Regions from separate parts of the Homo sapiens genome. Here all the other regions are linked to region 3. The links are contacts of gene promoters, found by promoter capture Hi-C in blood cells and fetal thymus (Javierre and others, 2016). All regions are on one chromosome and are shown on one strand. Each heading gives the region's core, a stretch centred on a gene start or on the middle of the fragment in contact. The rest is flanking DNA. Distances are from core to core; before and after follow the strand shown.

What was found. Contacts are between HindIII fragments. The CHiCAGO score rates a contact against its expected background, and 5 or more counts as called.
Region 1: a fragment that was not itself captured here is called in contact with the fragment with the promoter of IDNK in region 3 in 1 of 17 cell types (total CD4 T cells); the score reaches 6.8 in total CD4 T cells.
Region 2: a fragment that was not itself captured here is called in contact with the fragment with the promoter of IDNK in region 3 in 1 of 17 cell types (activated CD4 T cells); the score reaches 6.7 in activated CD4 T cells.
Region 4: a fragment that was not itself captured here is called in contact with the fragment with the promoter of IDNK in region 3 in 1 of 17 cell types (total CD4 T cells); the score reaches 8.0 in total CD4 T cells.

The regions. Positions count from the first base shown.
Region 1 is chr9:85,732,839-85,738,684 of GRCh38, forward strand. All of the region lies in intron 1 of AGTPBP1 (ATP/GTP binding carboxypeptidase 1), which reads right to left. Among named protein-coding and RNA genes, the nearest start is that of AGTPBP1, 6.2 kb to the right of the region's middle. The HindIII fragment of the contact is 6,338 bases long and covers 1-5,358 here.
Region 2 is chr9:85,953,902-85,960,154 of GRCh38, forward strand. It overlaps NAA35 (N-alpha-acetyltransferase 35, NatC auxiliary subunit), which reads left to right. Exons shown (of 23, transcript NM_024635.4): 3 at 2,459-2,492; 4 at 4,571-4,685; 5 at 5,892-5,966. Among named protein-coding and RNA genes, the nearest start is that of NAA35, 16 kb to the left of the region's middle. The HindIII fragment of the contact is 1,305 bases long and covers 3,217-4,521 here.
Region 3 is chr9:83,620,978-83,627,192 of GRCh38, forward strand. IDNK (IDNK gluconokinase) reads left to right here and starts at 2,166. Exons shown (of 5, transcript NM_001001551.4): 1 at 2,166-2,244. The coding sequence starts at 2,195. RefSeq lists a silencer at 1,861-2,390 and enhancers at 2,571-2,700, 2,721-2,770. The HindIII fragment of the contact is 10,566 bases long and covers 785-6,215 here.
Region 4 is chr9:86,345,687-86,351,541 of GRCh38, forward strand. TUT7 (terminal uridylyl transferase 7) reads right to left here. Exons shown (of 27, transcript NM_024617.4): 3 at 613-794; 4 at 1-99. Among named protein-coding and RNA genes, the nearest start is that of TUT7, 5.8 kb to the right of the region's middle. The HindIII fragment of the contact is 2,173 bases long and covers 1,882-4,054 here.

The DNA of each region.
Region 1 (5,846 bases), core at 940-3,439, 2.1 Mb after region 3:
ATCAGACAAAACAGACTCTGAATCAAATAAGTTTACAAGAGAAAAAGTATATTATATATTAATAAAAAGTTCAACAGAGCAAGAAGATAAAACAATTATAAACATTTACACACCAACAAAATATATGAAGTAGTTACAGATCATCAAAATACGAGGTAAAAATTAACATAATTATGGGGAGAAATACTTCTATAATAAAAGGTGGATACTTAATACACCATTCTCAATGAGGAAAAGAACAACCAGAAAGAAGTGAAGAGAGAGATGATTTGAACAACACAATGAATCAACTAGATCTAACATATATTTAGAACAAGGTACTCAACAACAGAATATAAATTCCTCTCAAGTGCACACAGAACATTCTCCAAAACAGGCCACATATTAGGATACAAATTAAGTCTCAATTGCTTTTAAAAGATATTTATCATACAAAGTGTGCTCTCCAACCTCACAACAGGATTAAGTTAGAAATCAATCTGAGAAAGAAAACTGGAAAATACACAAATTTATGGAAATTAAACAACGTACTCTTAACCAATGAATCAAAGAAGAAATCACTGGGTTAACCAGAAAATAGACACAAATGAAAGCAAAGACATGACATACCAAAACTTACAGGATATAGCAAAAGCAGTGCTGAGGAGAAAATCTATAGACATAAACACATTAAAAAGGAAGACAGATCTCAAAACAACCTATCTTTACAACTAAGGAACTACAAAAAGAAGAACTAAACCCAAAGTGAGCAGAAGGAAGAAAATAAAAAAGACCAGAGGAGAAATAATTAAAATAGAGACTAGAAAAACAATAAAGAAATCAACAAAACCAAAAGTTGGTGCTTTGAAAAGATTAACAAAACTGACAAACCTTTAGCAAGATTTAAAAGAGAGAGGACTCAAATTACTAAAATCAGAAATGAAAGGGGAGACATTCATGACCAATTCCACAAAACCAAAAAGGATTATAACAGAGTACTGTGAACAACAGTACACCAACAAATTGGATAACCTAGATGAGATAAATTCCTAGAAACACAAAACCTACCAAGCCTGAACCACAAAGGAATAGAAAATCTAAATAGACCCATAACTATTGAGGAGATGTAATCAGTAATTAAAAACCTCCTTACAGGCTGGGCACGGTGGCTCACGCCTGTAATCCCAGCACTTTGGGAGGCCAAGGTGGGCGGATCACAAGGTCAAGAGATCGAGACCAGCCTGGCCAACATGGTGAAACCCTGTCTCTACTAAAAATACAAAAAATTAGCTGGGCGTGGTGGCGCGTGTCTGTAGTCCCAGCTACTCAGGACGCTGAGGCAGAAGGATCGCTTGAACCCAGGAGGCAGAGGTTGCAGTGAGCCAAGATGGCACCACTGCACTCCAGCCTGGCGACAAAGAGAGACTCCGTCTGAAACAAACAAACAAAAAAACCTCCTTACAAAGCAAAGCCCTGAATCTGATGGCTTCACTGGTAAATTCTACAAAATACTTAAAAAAAAAAAAGTCCAGTTCTTTTCAACTCTTCCAGAAAAGTGAAGAAGGAACGCTTCCTACCTCATTCTATAAGGCCAGTACAGCCCTGATACCAAAGTCAGACAGATGTTACAAGAAAATGACAGACCAGTATTCTTTATGACCATTAATGCAAAACTCTTCAACAAAATACTAGGAAACCAAATACAGCAACATGAAGGCAAATCAAAACTACAAGATATCACTTCGTAGCTATTAGGATGGCTGCTACCAAAAACAAAACAAAAACACAAAATAGTAAGTGTTGATGTGCATAGATTAGAATCTTTGTGCACTATTGATAGGAATATAAAATGGTGCAGCCACTATGAAAAACAGTATGAAGGTTCCTTGAAAAATTAAAAATAGAATTACCATACAATCTGGCAATTCCACTTCCGGGTATATACTCAAAAGAACTGAAAGCAAGGTCTTCCATGGGAGGCCGAGGCAAGTGGATCATGAAGTCAGGAGACAGGGACCATCCTGGTTAATACGGTAGAACCCCGTCTCTACTAAAAATACAAAAAAAAATTAGCCAGGCATGGTGACACACACTTGTAGTCCCAGCTACTTAGGAGGCTGAGGCAGGAGAATCACTTGAACCCAGAGGCAAAGGTTGCAGTGAGCTGAGATCGCGCCACTGCCCTCCAGCCTGGGCAACACAGCGAGACTCCATCTAAAAAAATTTTAAAAATAAATAAATAAAAAGCAAGGTCTTGAAGAGATGTTTACATACCTAGATTCAAAGCAGCATTATTCACAAGCAACCCAAGTGTCCATTCATCAACGGATGAATGCATAAACAAAATCTGGTATATACATATAACAGATTATCCAGCCTTAAAAAGAAAGTCCTGACACACGGTACAACATGAACGAACCTTGAAGACATTGTGCTAAATGAAATAAGCCAGTCACAAAAAGATAAACGCTGTATGATTGATTCCACTCATGTGACCTACTCAGAGTTGTCAAATTCATAGCAACAGAAAATAGAACAGTGCCTGCCAGGGAATGGATTATGGGGGAGGGGGAGAGTAATTGTTTAATATATACAGAGTTTCAATTTGAGAAGATAAAAGAAGTTCCATAGATGTATGGTGGTGGCTGCCGCACAACAATGTGAATATACTTGATGCCACTAAACTACACACTTAAAAGTGATTTAAATGGTAAATTTTATGTTATATATGTTTTACCACCAATTTTTAAAATAAATATTTTTTTAAAGATCAAAATATGAACCTTGTGTTAAAAATTGGGAAAAAAGTTGTTTCAAATATAAATAAAAGTTAAAATCAATAAGATTAAATTAAAAGGTGAGAGATTAGTTTTCACCATGCACCAAAAAGGAGTCTAGAAAGTGTGTTGACCATAAATTAATAAACCTAAAGAGTTCTTGTTAAAATAATATTTTTTAATTCATTAAACTCTATTACATGTAGGCAGTGTTCAGATTTTTATTAACATTATCCGACCATAAATCCCTCTGGCTGACTTTATTATTGTTTTTAATCCCTATATAACCAATATCCTTATAATCTTCATAATTTTAAATCATTTTCCCCTTAAGGAAAAATGTGAGGCAAAGACAGCAAGTGCCTGGAATTTCTCCATAGGGCAGTTCATTCTCAGCATGAATTAAGTGAGAAATGAGCAGAGATTAAGAAGGGAAACCAGGTCACTTTTTTTTAAACTTATGAGTTAGATATTAGTGGAGCTTTTCACGTTGTGCCTTCACTGTTTAATATTTACATTCCCAAAATGTTAAATTTGAACATTTATATAGAAATGTACTACCGGGTCTGATTTTTGTTTTTAGATGGTATTCAGATTACTAATACTATAATCCCATTGTATCAGCACCTGACTAAAACCATTAAGAAACTTTCTGTGAATAACCTTTATTGTACTTAATTTTGTATGTTAAAATATTTTTCTTTAAATTTTTTAACTGGCACATAATAATCATATGTATTTATGAGGCACAGTGATCTTTTGATACATGTAATGTATAGCAATCAGATCAGGGTAATTAGCAAATCCATCATCTCAAACATTTATCATTTCTGTGCATTTGATATCCTCCTGGCTATTCGAAAGTATATATTATCAATTACAGTCATCCTATAGTGCTAGAGAACACTGTAGAGCTTATTCCTACTATCTAGCTATAATACTTTTTTTTAATAAGACCTTTACCTTTACCCAAAGCGTAAAACAAAAGCAAACAAGAGACTGTCACTACCACTTCACTTCTTAATCAAACGTTTGTGAGAAAGCCTCTTTAAGATTTAAATCCAGAAGTTCTAAAAGCACGGTGCGTGGGCCCCTGTGGTCCTGACACTCTTTTAGGGGACCCACAAGTTCAAAACTATTTGTATAATACTAAAATTTAAAATCTTAAAATTACTGGCATCTTGGACTGAGTTAAAGTCACCATCAACCACCAACAATTATAAAACAAGAAAAAGCCAGCCATGGCTCACGCCTCTAATCCCAGTACTTTGGGAGGCGGACACAGGCGGATCACAAGGTCAGGAAATCAAGACCATCCTGGCTAACGCGGTGAAACCCCATTTCTACTAAAACTACAAAAAATTAGCCAGGCGTGGTGGTAGGCGCCTGTAGTCCCAGCTACTCGGGAGGCTGAGGCAGGAGAATGGCGTTAAGCCAGTAAGCGGAGCTTGCAGTGAGCAGAGATTGCACCACTGCACTCCAGCCTGGGCGACAGAGCAAGACTCCATCTCAAAAAATAAAAAATAAAAAGACAAGAAAAAGCCAATGTCACTTAAGAATGTCCTTGAAACAGTAAAAATTATTAATTTTTATGCACCTTTTTATGTGACAAAATGGGAACTTTCCATGAACCATTTCTGCTACATACTGAATTACAATAGTTGATGGCTGTCTCAAAGTAAAGTGCTTCTGTAACTGAATTGACAGCTTGAACTAGCCTCTTTTTTAATGAAAGTGACTGAAAGAATGATTGACAGACTATGGTTACTCAAATTGGAATATTTTGGCAGAGGTTTTCTCAGAAATGAATAAACTGAGCTTGTCACTTTAAGTAAACAAGTCACATTTGTTGCCAATGATAAAATTTGAGCTTTCAAGCAAAAATCCGAATTCTGGAAAACTCATATCCACCATTGTCATGTCAAGACCTAAACAGCTTCCCAATAATTTGTCTCTAACAAAATGGGTGGTGATATTAACAACCATAACTTTCTTTAATATTGCATGATGAAAGATGTCAACATTTGGAAGATCTGCATAACACTGAACCAATATTTACAAATGACCAAGGAATGATGTTACAATCTCAGGAATGAGTATAAGACCCATTCAAAGTTCCAACCAATGGGTTTTACTAGAGCATGCAAAAATCCACTTACTGGATTTCTCACGGCATCTAACCTTTAAGAAATTGCCACTTACTGAGTTTTAATATAATACCAAACAAGAATGTCCACAATTATCGGAAAAGGCTATTAAAATGCTCCCTCCCCGGCCTCCCCACCCTGTTTAGCCATTAACTATGTGAGACTGGATTTTCTCCATATGTATTTCAACCCAAACAACATATTGCAATAGACTGGATGCAGGAGCAGATATGATAATCCAGCTGTTTCCATTAAACCAGACAGATTTACAAAAAAAGTAAAACAATGCCACTTTTCTCACTACCTTATTTTTTGTTTTAAAAAAAAGTTGTTTTCATTAAAAATAGGGTGTTTATATTAACATGTAAAGAGTTTATAATTGTCATTTTAAGTGAACTGACAATTTATATTTCCCTTTTCATTTACAATACAGTAAACATAGATAAATTCACAAAAGCTTTTTGGGGATCCTCAACAACTTTTAACAATGTAAAAGGGTCCTAACCAAAAGTTTGAAAGCATTTAGAGTTTTAATATTAGATCCCTGCAAACCAAGAACAAGTATGTAAAATCATACTGGAGGGAAAAAAAAAGTTCCTAGGAAAATTATATGAAAGCTGAAAATGAACACAATGTCAAATCAAAACTGATTTCACACTATATAATATCAATAAAAAAGAAAATGCTTAGATAAAAAAGAATGCTTAAAAAAATTGATTTTGTGTGCCCTGGAAACAACATACAATATTCTGATCAAATAAACAAGTACATACCTACCAATATTTTGACAGATCACATTTTTGATAGCGGCACATTATAGTCAAAGAAACACCCAATCACAAACTCAAAAACAGATGATTAAAAGATTAAAATAGCAGCCATCACCAACAGGAGGGAGACAATCCAAGGTTCTGTCAGAAGGGACAAACGGATTTATCAACAG
Region 2 (6,253 bases), core at 2,619-5,118, 2.3 Mb after region 3:
TAGACCATGGTTTATCATTCATCTGTCAATGGGCGCTTGGGTTGTTTCCCATGTTTTTTGATTGTGAATAATGCTACTGTGAACATGAGCATACGAGTACCTCTTTGAGACTGTTTTCAACTTTTCTGGGTATATGCTCAGAATTTGAATTGGCTGGATCATATGGTAATTCTGTTTAAAATTTTTTTTTGTGTTTAGAGACAGGGTCTCACTCTGTCACCCAGGCCGGAGTTCAGTGGTTCTGTTGTGGCTTTCTGCTACCTCAAACTACAGGGTTCAAGCAATCCTCCCACCTCAGCCTCCCCAGTAGCTAGGACTACAGGTGTGCACCACCATGCCTGGCTAATTTTAGAAGATATTTTATAGATACAGGGTCTCACAGTGTTGCTCAGGCTGGTCTTGAACTCGCGGGCTTAGGCAGTCCTCCTGCCTTGGCCTCCCACAATGCTGGGATTACAGGTGTGAGCCACTGCATCTGTCCTGTTTTTAATTTTTCAAGGAACTGCTGTACTGTTTTCCACAGTGTCTCGACCATTTTACAAACCTACCAGCAGTGCACAAGGGTTTCAGTTTCTCCACATCCTCATAACACTTATTTTCTGCAGGGATTTTTTTTTGTAGTACCCATCTTAATGAGTGTAAGGTGGTGTCATTGTAATTTTAATTTGCACTTTCCTAATGAATAGTGATCATCAAGGGCATTCTTAGATTGAAGAAAATTTTTGTCTTTTTTTAGCCGTAAGTGCATGGAAGTGAAGAGTACATGATTAGTTTAGCTTGGGGCCACTGTCTTGATTTGTGCTGAAGCTGCAGCAGTTTTGCCCTCCATTGCCTTTTTACCTTCCTATCATTGCTTTTGCATCATTAGTACAGGTGTCAACACAATAAAAAAAGACAACGAATGTTTTGGTATGATTATCAAAGTAATTTTAACATGGCAAGTTCCTGGGTTCCCAGACCACTCTTCGAGAATTGCTGGATTACTAGTATGTGTTCTGCTATGTTTTGTTGTTTTGTTTTGTTTTGTTTTGTTTGAGAGGGAGTCTCCTTCTGTCACCCAGGTTGGAGTGCAGTGGCACAATCTCGGCTCACTGCAACCTCTGCCTCCCGGGTTTAAGTGATTCTCCTGCCTCAGCCTCCCAAGTAGCTGGGATTACAGGCACCCACCACCACACCTGGCTATTTTTGTATTTTTAGTAGAGATGGGGTTTCACTGTGTTGGCCGTGCTGGTCTCAAACTCCAGACCTCAGGTGATCCACTAACTTCAGCCTTATTGGTGTATTTTCACACATGATTCTTATCTGTTTCAGTACCTGGAACTGTTAGAAATTAATATTATTTAACTTACAGTTGGCTAGGGAAGATTGGCTAAAGTTCTATAAACTGCTTTTTTACACCTTCCACAGGATTTAGCCATCTATATACATATATATATATATATATATATATATATATATATTTTTTTTTTTTTTTTTCTTCAGACAGAGTCTCGCTCTGTTGCCCAGGCTGGAGTGCAGTGGCGTGATCTTGGCTCACTGCAAGCTCCACTTCCTTGGTTCACGCCATTCTCCTGCCTCAGCCTCCCGAGTAGCTGGGACTACAGGTGCCCACCACCACACCTGGCTAATTTTTTTGTATTTTTAGTAGAGATGGGGTTTCACTGTGTTAGCCAGGATGGTCTCGATCTCCTGACCTCGTGATCCACCCGCCTTGGCCTCCCAAAGTGCTGGGATTACAGGCGTGAGCCACCTGGCCCGGCTGCCATCAATATTTAATCTACTTAGCATGTTATAGCAGTGATTTCTGACTTACCTGCATATTAAAATCATCTGGAGTGCTCTAAAACCACTGTATAGGTCCCAACTCTAGATTTCATTGGTTTGGGATGCTGCTTGGACTTTGGGATTTAGAAAGTTTCTCAGTTGACCCTAATATGCAGCCAAGGTTGAGGACCACTGCTTTATAGGGATTGAACACTGTTTTGATTACCTGTTTACTCAAGTGTCTTCTACATGATTTAAACAAAATAGGATTTTAAAAAATGGTTTTGACACTGTTACTGGAACAAAAGGAAATTAGATTATGGTAACGTGGTTTAAAAACTTGAGAAGTAGCAGTCAGTTCTATGTAAAAGTTTACTTGGCGAAATATACTAGTGATTTTTAAAAATGGGGTTGGTAATTCTGATTGGAATATTATGGCCTGCGATGGGTCACTTATTCTCAAAAGTATTATTTTTTTCCTAAACCACTTGATTTATCGTATTCTTTTGTATTTACACAAGTACTCACTGTATAGAATGCATTATATTAGTAATTGAGTAGAAATAAGTATTTCTTAGAAAATGAATTTTAAAGTAATACAAGCACATCTTTTCAGGTGCTAATGTCTTTTTTTTCTTAGAATTAAAAGTTAAATATAAATATGTTCAAAGGGTTTTTCTCTTTTTTTTTTTAGAATTAAAGTTGGGAGAACTACTTCATGATAAGCTGTAAGTATTTATCCTTTGAAAATAGTGTAGTGTAATGTTTCAGTCTGTTTTTTTTTCCTCATGTGGAGTAATATTCCCTGAAGTTTGAGTAAATTTACGTTTCAAAATTGTGAAAATAAAACTAATTATAAATATATTTTTAACTGTGATGAGCTATTTTGGGGCAGCTGACCCTAGTTGTGATGTGAAATGGTTATACCTAGGGAAACTGTAACTTATGGTCCTTTCCTTGAGAGCAGATGTAATGAATGTGGAATTTCTTGAATAAAAGATATCAGTTGTATGTCATATGTGATAGGTTGCTTGATAACCAGAAATTGGGTGACTAAGTGCCTAGATAAAAGTAAATGAGAATCCCTGTGTCTTAGTCAGTTTAGTGTTGTTGTAGCTGAATACCTGAGACTGGGTAGTTTATAAAGAGATTTATTTGGCATACAATTCTGATGACTGGAAGGTTCAAGACTGGGCAACTGCGTCTAGTGAGAGCTTTAGGCTGCTTCAACTCATGGTGGAAAGCAGAAGGGGAGCAGTGGGGAGTGGCATGTGGTGCAAGGAGATCACATGGCAGAGGAGGACGCAAGAGAGAGAACCCGAGGAAGTCAGAGTCTTTAAAACAAACCACCCTCTTGGGTAGTATCGTTGACCCTTGAGCAACTTGGGGATTGGGGTGCCGACCCACCCCCTCACAGTCAAGAATCCACGTATAACCTTTGACTCCCCCAAAAGCTTAACTACTGGTAGCCTATCATTGACTGGAAGTCTTACCAATAACATAAACCATTGATTAACACATATTTTGTATGTCATATGTGCCATATACTGTATTCTTAGAATAAACTAGAGAAAAGAAAATGTAATGAAGAAAATCATAAGGAAGAGAAAATATACTTACTGTTCATTAAGTGGATCATCATAAAGGTTTTCATGTTTGTCATATTCATGTTGAGTAGGCTGAGGAAGGAAGAGGAAGTTAGTCTTGCAGTCTCTGGTGGCACAGGTGCAAGAAAACCTTTGTCTAGGTGGACTCCTGCAATCCAAACACATGTTGTGAAAGGGTCAACTGTAATTCGTTCCTGGGAGAGCAAGAACTCACCTCCCTGGGAGGGCATTAATCTATTCATGGGGATTCTTCCCCATGCCCCAGACACTTCCCACTAGGCCTCACCTCCCAACACTGCCGCATTGGGGATCAAGTTTTAACATGAATTTTGGTGGAGGCAAACCACATGCAAACAATAGCACCTTGGAAAAACAAAATAAATGGAAATACTTGTTCGTCTTTATATGCCCATATGTAGCCCCAGTTCCTATACTGCCATGGCCAGGCTCAATTTTCAAGGTTAGGAATATGAAACTTTTAATTAGTAAGTAGACAAGATTGGACATTGTGGTTGCAGGGAAGGGGAAGTAGAATCTGAAATTCAGTTCTTCTCAGATTTGAGCGTGTGCCAGAATTGTCTGGAGGGCTTATTAAAGCGTAGATTGCTGGGTCCTACCCCGAGAATTCTTTATTAGGTCTAGTGTGAGACCACAGACATCTTATATATTTTCTTTTTTTTTTTTTTGAGAGGGAGTTTCACTCTTGTTGCCCAGGCTGGAGTGCAACAGTGCAATCTCAGCTCACCGTAACCTCCGCCTCCCGGGTTCAAGCGATTCTCCTGCCTCAGCCTCCCAAGTAGCTGGGATTACAGACATGCACCACCACACCCAGCTAATTTTGTATTTTTAGTAAAGATGGGGTTTCTCCATGTTGGTCAGGCTGGTCTTGAACTCCCAACCTCAGGTGATCCACCCGCCTCAGCCTCCCAAAGTGCTGGGATTACAGGTGTGAGCCACCACACCCGGCAGAAATCTTTTTCTTCCTCACAGTGCATGTGAAATAATTTGAGTGGCAAGTACATGAAATAATTTCTGTGTCAGTCGACAGTTAATTGAAATAGAAGTGTTAGCAAGTTGAGAAGACTAAATGCATAGAATACTTTAGTTATTAAAAGTAGTATAATTTTATACCGTTGTGAAAATATGAATAAGCTTACTGGCTCAAAAACAATTTGTTGGCTCAATTTTTTTATTTGCAGATTTGGTCTTTTTGAAGCCATGTCTGCTATTGAAATGATGGATCCCAAGATGGATGCTGGCATGATTGGAAACCAAGTTAATCGAAAAGTTCTCAATTTTGAACAAGCTATCAAGGTAGTTACCATTGTACTTTTTGTGTTTCCATTTATCTTTTGTTACTTCCTGTTAAAACATGGTGCTTAATAATGAAATGAAACGTTGTATTAAAGTCTGTTTCCTTCAAAGCAGCTCAAGCATATAAACAAGAATTAGTTATAACCTTTGTATGTTAAAGTCTGAAAATTGAGGTCTTCATTAAAATCTTGCTCTAAATTTGTGCATTTGTGTACTTTTAAATTTAATTTTTGAAAGCATTTGACTATATATTCAAATAGGAAAATTGGCTTGGGGGTTAAATTTTGTGTATTAATATATTCATATATAAAAGTAAATTTACACAAGTAAAATACTTGTGGTAGTGAATTTAAAATTGCTTTAGAAATTCATTTATACTTGCCATAGAGTTTGATTTTACATATTTTATAAAGAAAGATTTACTAGGCAAATGGATATCGTAAACAAAATTTACAAATAGTATAGTTAACCAACTTAAGTGAAGCATTTTAAAAAATCTTTAGTTTTCGGCTGGGTGCGGTGGTTCATGCCTGTAATCCCAGCACTTTGGGAGGCCGAGGTGGGTGGATCACGAGGTCAGGAGATCAAGACCATCTTGGCTAATACAGTGAAACCCCGTCTCTACTAAAAATACAAAAAATTAGCTGGGCGTGGTGGCAGGCGCCTGTAGTCCCAGCTAATCCGGAGGCTGAGGCAGGAGAATGGCGTGGACCCGGGAGGCGGAGCTTGCATTGAGCCGAGATCACGCCACCTGCACTCCAGCCTGGGCGACAGAGTGAGACTCTGTCTCAAAAAAAAAAAAACAAAAAAAAAAACTTTAGTTTTCTTTCTAAGTAGTTTTGGGTCATTAAAATGATTTATATTAATACTTAAAGCTGGTTTGAACTGTGCTTTTAAAATACTTGTTGATTTGGCTTTTCATTTTATATAAAGGCCTTTATTTTGATATTTCTTGTTGAAGACCTAAGATATATTGTTTTTACAATTATTATTTGTCAATTAAAAATAAAATTTATAAGAAGATATATTGTTTTTAAGAGTACAGAGTTAATTTGGTGTGATAGTTTTATCAGATGATAAGATAGCATTTTCTTAGAATTGCTGTTTTTAAATATTGAATGTTAGAAATCCAAAATGCTACTATACATAGTAACCATAAGTTTAAAAAAATTTCTGCTTATATGTCACATTCTTCCTCCTTTTTAGGATGGCACTATTAAAATTAAAGATCTCACCTTGCCTGAACTGATAGGGATTATGGATACATGTTTTTGCTGTTTGGTAAGAATGGAAATAAGACTATTGGTTAATTTTAAAACTGTGACTTACCTGAATCTTGTGATTTAAAAGCCTATACACTAATGTTGAGTATGAAATAAATGTAATACTTGCCCTAGTAAAGATGTGCATAAGATTAACAGGCCTAGTAATAGCATTTCATCTTGTTATCTACTTGATTTTACATTCTAATTTTCTGGGTGAAGGGATATTTTCTTTTCAATGAAGATAATATTATAGCCGTGGTTCATAATACCCTTTTCGTTCTCAAGTTACTCAAGTGATAAGTC
Region 3 (6,215 bases), core at 916-3,415:
AAAAAAAAACGTGGAATTCAGCTCTTAGGGGCACCTTTGAAGTTCCGCTGTCCTGGAAGCAGGCACAGAGTTTCACTGACACTGGCATGCTGGGTATCTTTCATTGGTACCTCCAGATACAATCTCCACCCTTCTCTTCCCTGCTCTGAGCCCAGGAAATTGGCATGCATGGGCACCGCCGGACTCCCTAGCTCTCCACCTTCCAATTGGGTTTGGCTGGTGGGGTTTGGCCACGAGCAGGAGATCACAGGGCAAGAGGAGGGGAGGGGAGGTTATTTATTCTCCTGATTATTTTTCTGCTGGGTCAACAAGGAATGTCTATCTCTCTCTTCCTAAGGCTACAGTCCTGTCAGACACTTCTTTCTATATGGTCTATTCTCTCTGTCTCTCTCCTTCCATTCTCTTCCCTTCCCATATAAAGGCTCCCTCTCATCAGCCCCTTTCTATTTAAGAGTGAAAACACTTCTCGGTTACTCAGATGTGGACTCTGCCCCTAGTTGCTTTTTCTGACCCTACCCACACCTGTGCTAATAGTCCCTTTGTTAAATCCTGTTCACCTGCCCCAATTTGAGCATGCTGTTTCCTGCCACCACCCTGAGCAGCACAGCAAGTTTAAGATCCTTGGACATGTCTGGGGAAAGAAATCCAAGGAGAAGAATCAGATTTTCTGCTAATCATTCTGATTTGAACATTGAAAGAAATATGAGCTTTTTTTTTTCATACTGAGCTAGCGAAGCAGGGCACGAGTTAAGAGTATTTGCATACACATCTATTCCTCTTATCAAGCTTGAGAATGCCTAGAGGGTAATCTTTTAAATGAATATTAATATGATATTAACCAGCACATGGTAGATGTTCAAGAAATGTGTATTGACCATAACTGAATTGTAAGACCTCTCTCCAAGCCTCAATTTCTTCACCTGTACAGCCCCCATCCAGATTGAAATCTCACCTACTCGGGCTAAGTATATGAAAAACAAAGGCAGTGCAGGGGTAATTGAACTATTCATTAGATAAATGCTTTTATGTCACTTTTATTGTTTTCTAGGACACAGAGTAATACCTACCTTGGTTAACAAAAGACCAAAGGAGGTGATGCCAAATGCGGTTAGAAGTGCTTTTAATCACTTTGGGAGGCCGAGGCGGGTGGATCATGAGGTCAGGAGATCGAGACCATCCTGGCTAACAAGGTGAAACCCCGTCTCTACTAAAAATACAAAAAAAATTAGCCGGGCGCGGTGGCGGGCGCCTGTAGTCCCAGCTACTCGGGAGGCTGAGGCAGGAGAATGGCGTGAACCCGGGAAGCGGAGCTTGCAGTGAGCCGAGATTGCGCCACTGCAGTCCGCAGTCCCACCTGGGCGACAGAGCGAGACTCCGTCTCAAAAAAAAAAAGAAGTGCTTTTAATCAAATAGTTCAAACGACACATAATTAACATTGTTTTAAAGCAAATGGACACTTTAAAGTGGTGCTCCTTCCTCTTAAAGCCCCAACCAGTGCTGGATTTAACAGCAGAGCCATACAGCCAAGACATATGCTGCTACGGTCAACACTCAACCCTAAGTTTGACACCAAAAGATGGCCGCCATTTATTATTGTGACAAAAGGCCAGATTACAAAACGCTGTGTACGGCCTGATCCCAGTTTTACAAAATACTCATACCCATCTATCTACGACGGGGCGCGGGGAAAGGGGAGTCGTTTTAGGAAGTGCTGCTTATTGCTGCCTGGTGTGGGAAATTATGAGTCTTATTTTCTGTTTATTCTTTTTACAAGAACATTTTTATAAATGAATGAATGAATGCTTTCCATGGGTGGATGAGGATCCGGCCTGCCAGGGTGAGGATCCTCTGGAACCAAGAGGGGCCGGGGCAGTAGAACGACAGGTGGCGGGGCTTTGGGCGGCTCCCTCCAGCCCAGGGAGACGCGAGTGCCAGGCCGGGCGCGCGCTTCACTTCCGGGAAGAGGAAAGAGGGAGGGGAGGGGAGAGGAAAAGAAGGGGCAGGAGAGAGAGGCCGGGAGGTTGGGAAAGGGAGGAGGAAAGCATGGAAAAGGGGCGCGGGAAAACGGGGAGGGCGCAGAGGGGCACGGCCCTCACTGCCCCGGCCGGGGCGAGAGCGGCTCCGCCCCTCGAGCGCCGGGTAGGCCGGGGCCGGCGGGGCCCGGAAGGCGACGGGAAGGAGCCGAGCTTGGGTTATGGCGGCGCCGGGCGCGCTGCTGGTGATGGGCGTGAGCGGCTCGGGGAAGTAGGTCCGGGAGAGGGCGGGGGGCGCCCGGGACAAGTGTTGCGGGCGCGGCGGAGGCCGGACGCGTCGCCGTCCCTGCCGGTGGACTGGGGTCTTGGGGACCCCCCACCCTTCCCTTTGCAGATGAAGAAACCGAGGCCCGCGGCTGCCGCGCCCTCTCCCCGCCCTCCAGCCTGCTCGCGGGGCGCCCATCCTGGGACCGCATCCGAGCTCCGGGTTCCCGCTCTAAGACGGGGAGGCTGCGGCGACCGCAGGCTCAGGGAGGAAGCCGCTCCTGAACAGGCGGCTGCGGGGCCGCGCAGGTGGAGGCCTAGCGAGCGGCGCGGGGCTAGGTTTCGGGGCGCCTTGTCGGGGCCAGGCGGGAGGGCGCACGGCCTCTAGCGAGAGGACGCAAACCACGGCCCAGGCTCTCACAGACCTTTGGCCATCTGGACACACAGCGGCCTCCTCCTATGAGGCCCTGGACTTCTCCGATTCAATTTTGGAAAGTGAATCGTTTTCCCCTTCCTTTCATCAGCTTAACCTGGAAGGAGACAGCGTTAATATGGAGGGTGGCTCCTGAGGGTTTGGAAAGAAAGAAGAGAATTGTGGAAACCACAGAGGTAGCCCAGTGTGCTAACCTGGAGACTGAGGAGTTAACATTTGGCTTCCTGTTTAAACCAAAGTCTAACTGTGCCCTTTATCAGAAAAGACAGCTGCTGTACCATTCGACCACAGGCAGCAAAGGACAGAACTTGATCAGCTAAAACATCATAACCTTCAAGGGCCTATAGGACCCTTCTAGAATTTTCTGAATCAGGAACGGCCCATGTTGTGGCCTGTGTAGTCAGGTGTATATTAAAGATTTACTCCAGGTAGATGGGTTTTGCTTTCCAAAATTATTGTAGGGTTCTCAGCCACAAAGATAAAAAGAAATCTTGAACTGCAATTGAAATAAAACATGGAGCCCCCAAATCCCTAGCTGCCATATGATTTGAATCAGTTGGAGAATGTAAAATCATTGCCATGGTGTGATGTAACAGGAGTGAAGAGCCCTAGGTCTTGGTTCTGTTGCTGTCTGGCTGTGTGAGCCTGGGCAGTTCATGTACCCCCTCTGAGTCTTGAATCAGATGAGGGAGGCCTAATCCCTATGATGTATAGCTTGTGATATTCATGTACTCAGTAATTATTGAGCTCAATCCTTACTCTATGTCATTGTCATATAGCGAACAGGACAGATAAAATCCCTGCCCTCAAAGGATTTACATTCTGGTATGGGAGACAGAGTAAATGAATATATGTAGTGTGTGAGTTGGTGATAGATGCTCTGGAGTAAGGGGAACAAAGAGTGCCAGGCAGAGTGGTCAGGGATGTCTCCTCTGGGGGAGTGGCGTTTCAGCAAAGACCTGCAAGACTTGAGGAACCTGCCATGTGGATAGCTGAGGAAAGGGCAGGACAGGCAGAGGGAATGGCAGGTGCAATGGTTCTGAGGCTTAGCTTCTTTTGTTTTTTTTTTGTTTTGTTTTGTTTGAGGCGGAGCTTCACTCCTGTTGCCCAGGCTGGAGTGCAGTGGTGCAATCTTGGCTCAATGCAACCTCCTCCTCCCGGGTTCAAGCAATTCTCCTGCCTCAGGCTCCTAAGTAGCTGGGATTATAGGCGCCCACCACCATGCACAGCTAATTTTTTGTATTTTTAGTAGAGACGGGGTTTCATCATGTTGGCGAGGCTGGTCTCAAACTCCTGACCTCAGGTGATCCATGCGTCTCAGCCTCCCAAAGTGCAGGGATTACAGGCGTGAGCCACCGCGCCCAGCTAAGGCTTGGCTTCTTTAAGGAGCAGGAAGGAACCCATTGTGGCTGAGTGAGGGGAAGCATGATGGGAGATGAAGTCAGAAACAATGCAGGTAAAGAGAATGTGGTCATATGCTGGCAATATTTTGAAGGTAGAGTCAGAAAGATGTGTTTGTGGACTGGATGTTGGGTGTAAGAAGACAAGAGAGAAGTCAAGGATGATTCAAGATTTTAGGCCTGAGTAATTGGAAGGAGGGAGTCGCCACAAACTGATTTGGGGAAGCAGTAGATAGAGCAGATTTGGAAGACAACCTCAGAAGCTCAGTGTGGGATATGGTGACTTGGACGAGCCAATTAGTCATCCAGTGGATGGTGGTTGGATGTCCAAGTCTGAAGTTCAGAGGAGAGGGACTTTAGATCTAACTGTGGGAATCACTGTTGTGTGGGTGTACTTAAAGATCTAAGGTGTTGAGATCACCAAAGGAGTGCATGTAGATAAAGAAGCTGGCCAAGAACTGAACCCTGGGGACTTTCAGTGGCGCAGGGTCAGGGAGATGTGTCCAATGTTATTGACTAGCTGAGTAATAAAAAGACTGGGACTTGATTATATTCATCATTGGATGTAGCAACATCAAGTTCTTTAGTGACTTTGTGAACCCCTATTGGAGCCCTACAGGATTTTTTAATTATACTCCATAGCATTTAGAAAAATATTTATCACAGCCTAATGGCTGAAGAGAACAATAGTCTCAAAACAGAAAGACTCCATTTAGAACACTGTTAAAACACAGTGACCTCAAGGACTAAGTTTGTTACTGTCTTCCCCCACCTGAATGTAAAGGATTATTTTCCTTTTTATTTACTGATACATGTGTCTAGAACAGTTCCTGGCATTTCGTAGATACTAAATACTTGTTGACTTAATGAATGGATGGATGGATGGAAGACGGCAGGCATCTGAGTGGGTGGCAGAGTTAATTTTCTTTATATTTTCACAATCTTAATGAAGCCACCCTTAACATCTCCTTCCAGGTTTCCTTCTCTTTGCTGATGAAACAAGCTCAGACCTTTTGAATATCTTTCTCATTGATTCTGCATCCCTTCCTTCTCCCCCATTGGTCTGTGTTGTCTTTTTAAGTCCCTTGCCCCTGATTTAGACCAACCCACTGGGAGACATATGGACCCCAAATCTTGATTTGTAATCCTGGGTCTGACCAGTATTTTTGGGCCCAGCACTGTGCCTTATTTCTGCCAGGGTCTTTGGTGCATATTCAAGAGTCCAGGTGTTCTCTGGTTTAGACAGACAGTGGTTTTTCTTTTCCCATCTTCTTCCTGACAGTCTACACCCACATCTCTTTACCTCTGCTTTCAAATTATGAGTGCTGGCTGGCATGTTCATTCATGGCTAATCTAACTTGTTTTTTTGTTTTTTGTTTTTTGTTTTGAGACAGACTCTCACTCTGTCGCCCAGGCTGGAGTACAGTGGCGTGATCTCGGCTCACTGCAACCTCTGCCTCCTGAGTTCAAGCGATTGTCATGCCTCAGCCTCCGGAGTAACTGGGGTTACAGGCGTGCACCACCACACCCAGCTAAGTTTTGTATTTTTAGTTGAGACGGGGTTTTGCCATGTTGGCCGAGCTAGTCCCGAACTCCTGGCCTCAAGTGATCCGCCTGCCTCAGCCTCCCAAAGTGCTGGGATTATAGGCGTGAGCCAAGGGCTCAACCTAACTTGGTCTTAAGTGTGATTTCTGCTATGCACACTTCTGGCTTCACCAGCCATGGAGTTTGGCCGGGATGGTCTACTCATCCGTAGGCTGCATGTCTCCCTGCGCAGCCTTCAATAGAATGAACTAATGGGAAAGGTTTCACTGCTCTCGCAACCTTTGGTTACATCCAGGAGCAGATCTCAGTTTGGTACAACTGTGTCTAACACCTCTCTGATAGCTTTTTAGTGAAAGAAAGAGGACCTTTGTTAGGCAACAGTATCCAGCTAGAATTTAATCACATTGTTCTGTTTTCATTATATACAGCTTTTCAGGTACCTTCTATTCAAGGCAAGTGATGATAGCTTCTTGTGCAAGGGAATGAAAGAAAGTTTCCTTCTTTAACACACTTATTTAATTTTTAAAAGTGAAGCAATTAAATAAAAACATCAAAATGTTGAGGTGATATGTAAAATTTAAGAGGGCATGATAAAATAGT
Region 4 (5,855 bases), core at 1,718-4,217, 2.7 Mb after region 3:
CCTCTTTTCCTTGATATGCTTATGGGCAAATGCAATGGATTCAATTAAAACATCACAGAGTCTGCAGGTGTACTTTGCTGTAGGGTAGTTTCGTGGTCGCTATAATTTGAAGAGATTTATTTAGAGAGAGACATAAGTAAAACCAAACATTCAGATAAACAAAATCAGCCAGGAAATGATTTCCCCTTCAATTTCTTTTCTCTAAAGAGACAGGAGTCTCACTATGTTGCCCTGGCTGGAGTGAACTGGCTATTCACAGATACCATTATAGCATACTACAGCCCCAAACTCCTGAGTTCAAGCAATCCTCCTGCCTCAACCTCACAAGTAACTGGGGCTACAGGCATGCCACTGTGCCTGGCTTCTTCTTCACTTTTAAAATTGCTACTGTTATTGTTCCCTTTATCACTACCCTAACAGTCATTTTAAGTATAATAGCAATGACTCCTAATCCTATTAAATCACACTGGACATCACTTTTAACTTGTAGTGCTTAAATACTGATAACCAAAGTAGGATATCTAATTGATCAGAGCATGCATACTCAATTAACAACAAAATTGAGGCTAAAACCAGGATTCTAACCAACAAATATATATATAAGGATGTTACCCTTTTTAGCCTGTCAATGCAGTCTCTCTTCAGTCTCTCCTCAGCCTGCTGTAAGCCTAGCAGCTCCTTCGTTGAAAGTACAGACTCATCGATCACAGGGCCTTCCAAGTCTCCATCCTGCTCATTTTCCTCATTTCTAGTCTTCCGTGGCTTCCTAGGTCTGGACCTCTGCTTCTTGTTTTCTTAAGGTGGGGGAAAAATATTATTGGCAATATTAAATAATGCCACTCCTGAGTAAAAAGCAGACCTTACATATGTATTAAATCATGTGAGAGAATAAATCACATCTGCATGCAGAGCAGAAGGAAAGGTAGCTGTCCTATGGACAAAATGCTTTAATACTGTATTCAGTGAGCACATCACCTGTAGACATTAAGCCATAGAAATCATCTTTTTGGAAAATTTAAAAGAATTCTACTTCAATCATACAATTTGATTTTTATTATCTCTTCCTGGTATACTGCTGAGCATAGCAAAGCAACAGAAAAATTATACTCTGAAGGCAAGTATATCTATAATTCTATTATATTAAAATATTACAATACATATTGTAAATATATCTTACATATTCTATAATATCTGTAAGTACACCTGTTATTCTCATTAAAACCAGCCACATTTGCTTTCATCTTCTATAAGTGAACAATCTCAATAAGGCAAAATGCAAAATGTACCCCTGGACAACTCAGAAATCAACTATATACTCATCTGGAGTGAAAAATCATCATTTAGTTGCAAATTTAGCCATCAATAACACCTAAGCCGGGTCCCTCCGTTAATATGAAGAAGTCCAAGCCAAAATTTTATTTACTAAGGACAACTATCTCTCATTTTACCTTTACCTTCATTTTAGCTTCTTTGAATGGCCTGTACACTGAGCATATTTCAAAGGAAAAAAACAACTGGCCATTGAAACAAAAGTTTTCTCTAAGTACATTTGTTTATAAACTCTGCTATTAGTTCTATAATCCTTATAATGAATAAAAATCATCCTGTTCCTTTTTAAAACTTATAACTTTTCAACTTGTTAAAGTGATTGTGGGATTAAACCATAAAAAATTGTTTTAGATAGCTTTGATAACTTATATCGAGTTTTAAAAAATGAAACTATTAGTAACACATTAGTGCTTGGAAACATAAACCTACTGAAAAGCCCTACATGAAGTAATTCCTCCATCAAGTTTTCAGAGGAACTCATTACTACTAGTATGGCAATTACAATGAACTGGCAGGCTGAAAAGGAAATATAGGACCTCCAATTTTATAAAAAGCTTGCTGAGAGCGCTAAAGGATAAGCAGCAAGCATTGTGCTAAAACTACCTGAGATGACTATCTCAAAATTCTGCAAACACCTTCCACAATATAAGAAAATTAAAAAATTAAAAAAAATTAAAGTGTTGGAAAAGTAGTTTTAAAAAATCAATCAAAATACACTGAACAAATAAAATACTAAAAGGTAAGTTGTCATTTCAACAGAAAATCAGGCTACCTTGCGCTACCTTAATATTTCCTTTTTAATACTCCCCCGACTCCCAATTAAATTATCATAATCTTTTAAGGCCAGTATTTCTGGTCTGAACAATTTTTTTTTTTCAGATAAGCACTTCTTTTACTTAGAGATGTATCCATTCTCATTTAGTTTGCTTATCATTATAAACATTATCAAAAAAACTGCATCTAACTTCAGTGTTTATTACAGGTTTCTTAGGCAAAAACTCTATAAATTTAAAATAATACTGCAATACCCTTTAGAAAAGCCCCTATTAGTTCACAAGCCAGTAAGTGATAGGGAACCGAATTCCTTTTTTAAACTCTTCCTCTCTTCTGGTCACAAAGGTTTCTCCATATAACCATATTTGCTGTCATTTTCTAGAAAGAGTAACTTCTCTCTTCCTCCAAAGACCTCAATCAACTCCTACTGCTTTTATACAGAAGTGGATGGCTGCAGAAATTCTGTCAGATAATGGCAGCTACCATGATGGTGTATCTTATTATGCAACAGATGTAAAGCACTTTATATGTACTGCCTTATTTAATCCCTACAGCAATCCTGCTAATACTGTCCCCATTGTACAGATGGGGACAATGCGAATCCAAGAGAATAACTTCTCCAAGAACACATGGCTAAATCAAAGTAAAGGGATTGAAAATATAGATTAAAATATGGATGGGGCCAGGTGCAGTGGGTCATGCCTGTAATTCCCAGCACTTTGGGAGGGTAAGGTGGGAGGACTGCTTGAGCTCAGAAGTTCAAGACCAGCCTGGACAACATAGTGAGATGTCATCTCTAGCAAAAATGAAAAAAATCAGCCAGCAAGATGACTCACTCCTGTGGTCCCAGCTACTCAGGAGGCTGAGACGGAAGGACTGCTTAAGCCCAGGAGGTGAGGCTGTGGTGAGTCATGATTGCGCCATTGCACTCCAGCCTGGGTGACAGAGTGAGACTCTGTCTAAAAAACAAACAAACAAAAAAAGGATGAAATCCTGAAATTCAGCCTTCTAACTAACAACATAAAAACTGGAAAGAAATTACTAAAATCCCTTCTTGGAACATACCCATTCACATCTAGAGTGGACTAGCACTGAAAGGCAATATAACCTTCTAAACCTACTTTCACAGGCATGCATGGTAAAAACTGTCAAAATCTCACCGGAGGGACTCTTGGAGGGTAAAGCTAGGTACTGATGAAAAATTCTTGGCCAGGCGTGGCAGCTCATGCCTGTAATCCCAGCATTTTGGGAGGCCGAGGCAGGTGGATCACCTGAGGTCGGGAGTTCGAGACCATCCTGGCCAACATGGTGAAACCCTGTCTCTACTAAAAATACAAAAATTAGCTGGGCGTGGTGGCAGGCACCTGTAATCCCAGCTACTCGGGAGGCTGAGGCAGGAGAATTGCTTGAACTCGGGAGGCAGAGGTTGCAGTGAACCGAGATCATGCCATTGCACTCCAGCCTGGGCGACAAGAGTGAAACTCCATCTCAAAAAAAAAAAAGAAAAAAGAAAAATTCTCATAATTACTTGGAGGAAGACTACCTGGCTTACCTCAGATTTATTGTAATAAGAGTTCTCTATATTCGGCATTCCAAGTTTCCCATATTTTATTTGCATATGGTTCACAAAGGACATGTGTATTTGAGTGGATGCTTTCCAGCTAAGATCATTAATGGCAATGTCCCAAATACATTAAACTGGCAATCTAGGACATTTGAAGGCTAAAGTAGGGGCAGTAATGTAGAGCTGAAAAAAACAGAAGGTAGTACCGTATGTGGGGGGGAAAAAAGCAACTCCACCATAATTTCCATTATATCTTCTCACATTGTTGAATAATACCCTTCCTTATTAAGACACAATTTTGATAAAGAAATTTCGATCTCTTTAATGAGATCCTTTTTAGTTTATACTTTCAGTTGAATCTCTCTAAACTAAATAATGTTATACCGAAGCTTAATGCTTCCTATATGAAGATTTTCAAGGGATAGAAACTGAATAATTCTTTACTTAATAACTGTGAAAGCATATACCTGTATGTCATACAGCAAAAACATGCAAACTTTTGAATTACCTCCAATAAAAAAATAGCAAAATGCATTTCCTATTCAAATACACTTAAAAGCAACTTCTTTAGTTGCTTTTATAAGAATACACATAAAATAAGAAAACATATAAAAGTTTTTGTGGTCAGCCAACAGTTCCTTTTAATGTCTAGTTGCAAATTTTTGATCTATAAACTTTCTTTTTAAAATGCTTTTCAGCCGGGTGCAGTGGCTCACACCTGTAATCCCAACACTTTGGGACGTCAAGGCAGGCAGATCATGAGGTCAGGGTATCGAGACTACCCCTGGCCAACATGCTAAAACCCCAACTCTACTAAAAATACAAAAATTAGCTAGGTGTGGTGGCACGTGCCTGTAGTCCCAGCCACTCAGGAGGCTGAGGCAAGAGAATTGCTTGAACCTGGGAGATGGAGGTTGCAGTGAACCAAGATCGCACCACTGCACTCCAGCCTGGGCTACAGAGCGAGACTCCATCTCAAAAAAGAGAATAATAATAATAAAATGAAATGGTTTTCAAGATCAACTTCTACAAGACTATAGGTAACAAAATTAAATACCCACATCCCACCTGGACAGTAATACAGAAACACTTAAATATACACAATTTTTAATAAAGAAAAACACAAATCAAAAGCCCAGAAATTATCAAGAAATATTCGGCTCCGCCGTCAGGATTTCAGGTCCAGCGAGGCTGAGTTAATGGCCAGAGTAGCAGAGTCCCCAATTTTAGTTCTACTTCCTCATTTACCGCGCTGCATAAACAGGTCTGTGGAAATTTAACCTCTCTGAGCTGCAGCTGCCTGATTTGTAAAACTGTGATTCCATTTTTGATATATTACAACAGAGTACTGCATCAGATAATTCCTCAAGCTATTTCTAGCTTAAAGATTTAAGTTTTATGTCTCCCTACTACTTAACGCCTTTATAACACTTCATTCTGTTTCTGCTACTTGATATTAATATATACTCTTAATTTTCAAATTTAAAAATATCTGAGGGCCAGGCGCGGTAGTTCACGCCTGTAATCCCAGCACTTTGGGAAGCAGAGGCAGGTCGATCACTTGAGGTCAGGAGTTCAAGACCAGCCTGGCCAACAGGGAGAAACCCTATCTCTATTAAAAAACAGAAAAATTAGCTGGGCATGGTGGTGTGCACCTGTAGTCCCAGCTACTTGGGAGGCTGAGACATGAGAACCGCTTGATCCTGGGAGGCAGAGGCCACAGTGAGAGGAGGTCACATCACTGCACCTCCAGCCTGGGTGACACAGTGAGACTGTCTCAAAAAAAAAAAAAAAAAATCAGGCTGAATGTGGTGGCTCACGCCTGTAATCCCAGCACTTTGGGAGGCCAAGGTGGGTGGATCACTGGAGGTTAGGAGTTTGAGACCAGTCAGGCCAACATGGTGAAACCCTGTCTCTATTAAAAATACAAAAATTAGCCTGATGTGGTGGCATGTGCCTGTAGTCCCAGCTACTTTGGGGGATGAGACAGGAGAATCGCTTGAACCCAGGAGGCAGAGGTTGCAGTGAGCCAAGATCGCGCCACTGTACTCCAGCCTGGGTGACAGAGCGAGACTCCGTCTCAAAAAATAAAATAAAATATAAATAAACAGATCTGACAACTAGAAGTATCTGTGAAAAAAGAAAAAAAATCAAGTAGCACATTTCCCCCCATTTAATATTAATAAGT